Linked DNA regions of Homo sapiens: region 1 is linked to region 2. The links are contacts of gene promoters, found by promoter capture Hi-C in blood cells and fetal thymus (Javierre and others, 2016). All regions are on one chromosome and are shown on one strand. The core of a region is centred on a gene start or on the middle of the fragment in contact, and the rest is flanking DNA. Distances in the headings are between cores, read along the strand shown. Region 1 overlaps SPTA1 (spectrin alpha, erythrocytic 1). Region 2 holds the start of CD1C (CD1c molecule).

What was found. Contacts are between HindIII fragments. The CHiCAGO score rates a contact against its expected background, and 5 or more counts as called.
Region 1: a contact is called between a fragment that was not itself captured here and the fragment with the promoter of CD1C in region 2, in 1 of 17 cell types (fetal thymus). The highest score is 6.1, in fetal thymus.

What each region holds. Positions count from the first base shown.
Region 1 is chr1:158,645,998-158,649,211 of GRCh38, reverse strand. It overlaps SPTA1 (spectrin alpha, erythrocytic 1), which reads left to right. Exons shown (of 52, transcript NM_003126.4): 26 at 559-703; 27 at 1,492-1,673. Among named protein-coding and RNA genes, the nearest start is that of SPTA1, 39 kb to the left of the region's middle. The HindIII fragment of the contact is 1,162 bases long and covers 726-1,887 here.
Region 2 is chr1:158,288,363-158,291,220 of GRCh38, reverse strand. CD1C (CD1c molecule) reads right to left here and starts at 1,298. Exons shown (of 6, transcript NM_001765.3): 1 at 1,096-1,298; 2 at 1-87. The coding sequence starts at 1,156. It also overlaps a transcript of CD1B not described here. The HindIII fragment of the contact is 9,220 bases long and covers 1-2,858 here.

The DNA of each region.
Region 1 (3,214 bases), core at 57-2,556, 360 kb before region 2:
GGGCAACAGACATCACATTGACTATCAGCTCATTCAACATTTTTCTTGTTTGATTTTCAAACTAAGAAACACAAAGACACATACAAAAAAGTAAACAAACAAAACAGAAACTAAACACCTTCATTGTGTATAAATGTATTTTTGATGATGCAGGGAAGGAAAAACAGACTCAGACAGGTCTGTGTGTGTAGAATGCTTAAGATAGAAAGCTATGGAAATATGATGGTTAAGCATGTGACTGCTGTCAGATGGCCTGGTTCAAGCTTAGGCTCCACCATTCAGCAGTGGTATAATCTTGAGAAAATACTTACCCTCTTTAGTCCTCAGTTTTCTGATCTATTTAATGGGAATAGTAATAGTAACTATGCTTCTTGGAGTTGTGAAGATTAAATGAGCCTAAGTTTCTAGCACATAAAAAACAATGATGATAATTGGTTGGGGTGGGGGGGTGGGTGGGAGGATGGTGAGTGGTAGTGATGATAACTTTCTTGTGACCCCCACTAGCCTGCCTCTGGTACATATCCTTACTTTTGAACTCTCTACTCTCTTGTATACCAGAGAAGCAGATGACACGAAGGAGCAGATTGAGAAGAAATGCCAGGCCCTCAGTGCTGCAGACCCTGGCTCAGATCTGTTCAGTGTTCAGGCTCTTCAGCGACGGCATGAGGGCTTTGAAAGGGACCTCGTACCCCTGGGAGATAAGGTGAGACAAGTCCTTCAAAGCTTTTCCAACACTTTCCAGTCTATATTTAGCCGTATACCAATGCCCTCTTCTTTGGTTCTCTTTTTCAGTCTTTTATTCTTATATTTCTCTCTGTTCTGTGCCATATTTATTCTTGTACACTGTCCCTAAGGCAAGACCATGAAAAGGATATGCCCCATGACCATTAACATGGGGAAAAAACTTGTTAAACTCCTGCTGTCTGAGTGAGCACCCTATATCCCCTTGCCTCTTTGGTGGGTTACAAGTGACCAGATCTTGTGGCAGCTAGGTGGAGGCCAGTAGCCCAGAAGAAATAGCAAATGTCCATACCCAGGATGATCAGGCCAATATCTGAGTATGGTGCATGTTTTTCTTAGCAAGGAATTGAATGAGTTGTTTAACTCTGTTTCAACCCAAAAGTGTACTCTGGAGCTTGTCAGATATACTCAGAGGCTTGGCATTATCATGCAGAGCAAAAAGAAGCTCCTCACATGAAGAATCAAGACCCTTGGGTTTCCTAATTGAGGTTGCCACTAACCAGCAGAGTCACTTAACCACTCTTCCCCACAACTCTCTTATTTTTAAAAAGAAGTATGGTAATGCCAATTGTAACTACCTTAGGGAGTTATGTGGACTAAAAGGTTGATATTATTTTGTAAAGTATGATGACATACTTGTACATCACTGATATCTATTTGAGGAGCTGAATACTGGGACTCAGGATTCTCCTTTTGCTAAGATTCAGGTGTGTCTCTAGGCTGATTATCAGAGCTATTGTACCTCCCCAGGTGACCATACTGGGGGAGACAGCAGAGCGGCTCAGTGAGTCCCATCCAGATGCCACTGAGGACCTGCAGAGACAGAAAATGGAGCTGAATGAGGCCTGGGAAGACCTGCAGGGGCGTACAAAGGATCGTAAGGAGAGCCTAAATGAGGCCCAGAAATTCTACCTGTTCCTCAGCAAGGCCAGGTAGAGTGGGGTGGGTAACTTCCGTGTCTGGCCTCTAAGTAGACTGTCTGGGAGCAGTCTGGGTACAGATGCTGTTCACTGCTGGTTTTGGAGGGCATCACTACGTTTAAGTCTCACCTCTTGCAAGGCATAAAAAATTTCAGGTTTGAAACTAGAAGCAATAAAATACAAAGTTTGAAAGAATATGAAGCCATGTAGGCCAATTAAGTAAGCTTCTATAATGTAGAAGCTTTTTTGTTCTACTGAAGAGACAGTAGTATTCAGTCTTCTACTGTATTCAGTATTCTGTTGAATACAAATAACTATGGTAGAACATAATGAGGCCGAAAACACACATTGTAACAAACAGCAGTGGGAATTCAGAGTTGGGTAGAATAGATGATGCACTGTAGATAAAGTAACATTTTATTACACCTTATCAGTCAAACTTTTAACAGAAGAGAAAACAATTCATGTAGACTGAACTGTGCAAAAAAAGACATAATCATGAGAAAAGAATAAGCATAAGAACATGTTTGGGGAGGGGGTGGTAAGGAGAAGTAGTAAGAGATAAACTTAAAAATAATATTGGGACCAAATTCCAGAGAACTGTGAATATCTTACTAAAGTCTAGACATTATCACAATCCAAAATTCACCTCTCAAACATATACTTTGTGGAACAGTTCCCACGTTTGGCTCTATCGCATCAGTCAGCTGAGAGGAGCATTAGAGTAGAGGGTCCAGGAAGTTGTAGCTCTCAATGCAATGCTTTTCAAGAAAAAAGGAGGCAAATTTTGGCAAATGACTGTAGTTCCTCTTGGAAATCCCCTCCCCAGTTCAGCACTGGAAAGCTATAGTTTTTGACACAGTTTAAATAAATAGCACCCACACCCATTCCAATGGTGCTTCCTTCCCTTTATGAAGCTGTACTCCTCAGTATTTCAGAGTAGTGTTCCCACCCCTGAGCAACATTAACATCTTATTTTACTCCATATGATACTTTTGCTTTCAGTTTTGTTTTTTAATTGCTATTAGTGCCTATGCTCTGTTTTTTGTTTGTTTTTTGTTTTGTTTTGTTTTGTTTTTATCCATTCTTAACCTAAAGTATGAGTTCCTAGAAGGCACAGATATGCCTTTTTCACAATGTTTGGTACTTAGTAAGCACCCAATAAAACTTAGTTGCTTGAATAAATAAATTTACAAAAGAAGAGACCTCTCTTTCCTAGAGCTAAGGGTTCCTGTTGAGCAAACAAGAGTAATGACATTCTTTATGAGATGCTTAATTTATACACCATATATGCTTTAAAGTTAATGCATAGTTAAAATTTGCCTTTTAAGAAGATAGACCTTAGTTTTGCTCGTCTAACTTCCTGACTACTAAAAGGGTAGGGAAATAGACCTTGATTTAATCAACAGTGTGGAGGCCTGTGTGTGTATGTGTATGTTGGCCAAAATATGTGCTAGATTCACTTGAGAATAAAAGTAAGAGGAAAGACATGATTTCTTTGAGACTCTGTAATAAGATGTATCTTCAAACCCTAGAAACCACTTAAAAGGAAC
Region 2 (2,858 bases), core at 49-2,548:
GCCATCCTGAGCCCTGACCTCGTGCCCAGGATTGGTTGACAAATGAGAAGATCTGGATGACATGGAAGGAGACGTGTTCCTGGGATGCTTTTGGTGGAAGAAGGGCAAGTAGTGTAAGGAAAAAAAAAAAAAGAGAGGCAAGGAAAATGGAGAGAAAATGGAAGGTGAACCAGTTACCACAGAGAAACATTAATGACTACTTTAGCTATACCATTTTCCTTACACAGAGCCCCATGCTCTGCCACCATCCTCTAAAAGAGTAAACTGGACCTGGAGAGAGGTATGCTCAAATGGCAACCATTCTGGCTTCTTCATTGATCCATCTTGGGAAAGCCCATCATGCTCAACCCAGATACATGTAACCTTGCAGCTGACAGAGATGTTCATACTATCTGCATTGTCACCACCGGGGAGGAGAAGAACTAGCAGCGGAAACTACAGAAACAGCATGTCATTTGCAGTTGTTTCCTTCTCTCAGAAAAGCCATTTGCTGATCTCTGTTCTTAGCAAACTTATCCCTCTACATCTATATTCTGACTTCCTTCTACCAACAGACAATCTTCCCCATCAGCCACTGACAGCAACTAAGACAATCTGCTTCCCTTAACCTTAGGCCTCCTACTCAATCTCTCATTTCCCCATCTGCTCTGAACTAAAGTTACTCTCTTCCCTTAGGATTTTAGCTGCTCTCCCACTAAGCTCCATCTTATCTACTTCCCTTCCTCAACTGCCTTAGACAAAGTGGTGCGTGGCATTGAAAGGTTGCTTCATCCCTCTGGACCTTGCGTGTCATTTGTAACATAAAAAGGAGAAACCACATCATTTTCCTGGGCCCTGATTGTTTTAACGGAAAATGGAGAGGAAATGGAAATTGAACCAGTTACCACAGAGAAACATTAATGACTACTTTAGCTATAACATTTTCCTTACACAGAGCCCATGCTCTGCCACCATCCTCCAAAAGAGTAAACTGGACCTGGAGACAGGTATGCTCAGATGGCAAGCATTCTGGCATCTCTATTGATCCATCTCGGGAAAGCCCAGCACACTCTACCCAGATACATGTAACCTTGCAGCTGACAGCGATGTTCTTACCGTCTGCATTGTCACCACCTGGGAGAAGAAGAGCTAGCAGCAGAAACTGCAGAAACAGCATGTCATTTGCAGATGTTTCTTTCTCTCAGAAAAGCTGTTTGCTGATCTCTGTTCTTAGCAAACTTATCCCTCTGTACCTATATTCTGACTTCCTTCTACCAACAATCTTCCCCATCAGCCGCTGACAGCAACTAAGAAGATCTGCTTCCCTCAACCTTGGTCCTCCTACTCAATCTCTCATTTCCCCACCTGCTCTGAACTAAAGTTATTCTCTTCTCTCAGGATTCCAGCTGCTCTGCCACTAAGCTCCATTATATCTACTTCCCTTCCTCAACTGCCTTAGACAAAGTGGTGTATGGCATTGAAAGAAAGGTCATTTTGTCCCTCTGGATTTTGCATGTCATTTGTAAGATAAAAAGGAGAAACCATGTCATTTTTTCAGTTCCTGCTTGTTTTAATAGATCACAGTTCTTCCAGTTTCTCCACTTAACTTTGCCTCCACTCTCCATAGTGTCCCCTCTTCTCATCACTCCATTCTTTCTTTCCCCCTTTTGAATGTCCTCAAAGTTTTCTCTTTCCAATTTCACCTCTTTTCACCCATCTTTCTTATTTCCTCATTCTCACTGATTCTTTTATAAATTGGAGACGTTGCTTTTTACATCTTCCAAGATTTCCCTGCACAATTATATAAACTACAGTCCACTCTACATTATCCTTAGAGATTAAATTGCAGCCATTCAGAATGCATAGGACCATAACAAATATAAAGAAGCCCTTCTACTGCATTTAATCTGTATAGTCATTCACTAAAAAATTACATAGTACATGGTTGATACCAGTGTCTTACTAGGCATATAAACACACAGAGGTTAACAATGTAATCTCTTCTATCAAAGAGTTTTAAACTGCAGATGTTTAAACAAAAAATTAAAATGCATTGTGATTTTAATTTCAATGTATAGAATCCCAGATACAAATCTACTTAGAACTATATTCTCTAGAGCAGCATTTTGACTGACTAACCCCCTGGGAAGTTCATAATTTGAAGTCCTGGAAGAACAGCATGCATCTCAACTAAATACTGAAAATTCTGTACAGTGTGGAATGGTATACGATTGTGATAGTCAGAACATGCAGCTTTTCAAGAGGACTCATACATGGGGAGACCACAAAAATCCAAATTTAAGTTGTTTTGTGATCTGACCAAAACACATTGTATAAAAAGGGCAGCATTTGTCAATGTTTGATTTAAGTAGTTTATATGAAGTATTCAGTGACTTATCAGTGACCCTGGCTGGTTAATATGTGTAAATACATGAACACAGTTTTTTTGAGATCCAGGAAATACATTTATTATTATAGTGTTTCTTAAATCATATTAATTATTCACTGAATGCATTGGAGCAGTCACTTAAAATCTGGGCATGAATTTGTGCTAGGCACAATGACTCATGCCTGTAATCCCAGCACTTTGGGAGACCAAGGTGGGAAGATCACTTGAGCCCAGGAGTTTGAGACCAGCCTGGGCAACAAAGTTAGACCTCATCTCGATAAAAAAATTAAAAAGTTGGCCAAATGTGGTGGCACATGCCTGTAGTCCCAGCTAAATGGGAGGCAGAGGCAGGAAGATCTTTTGAGCCCTGAAAGTCAGGGCTGTAGTGAGCCATGTTCATGTCACTGTACTCCAGCCTGGGTAACAGAGCAAGACCGTGCCTTAAAAAGGAAAATCCCATTTGTAACATTGTTTCTGTTTTAAATTTATA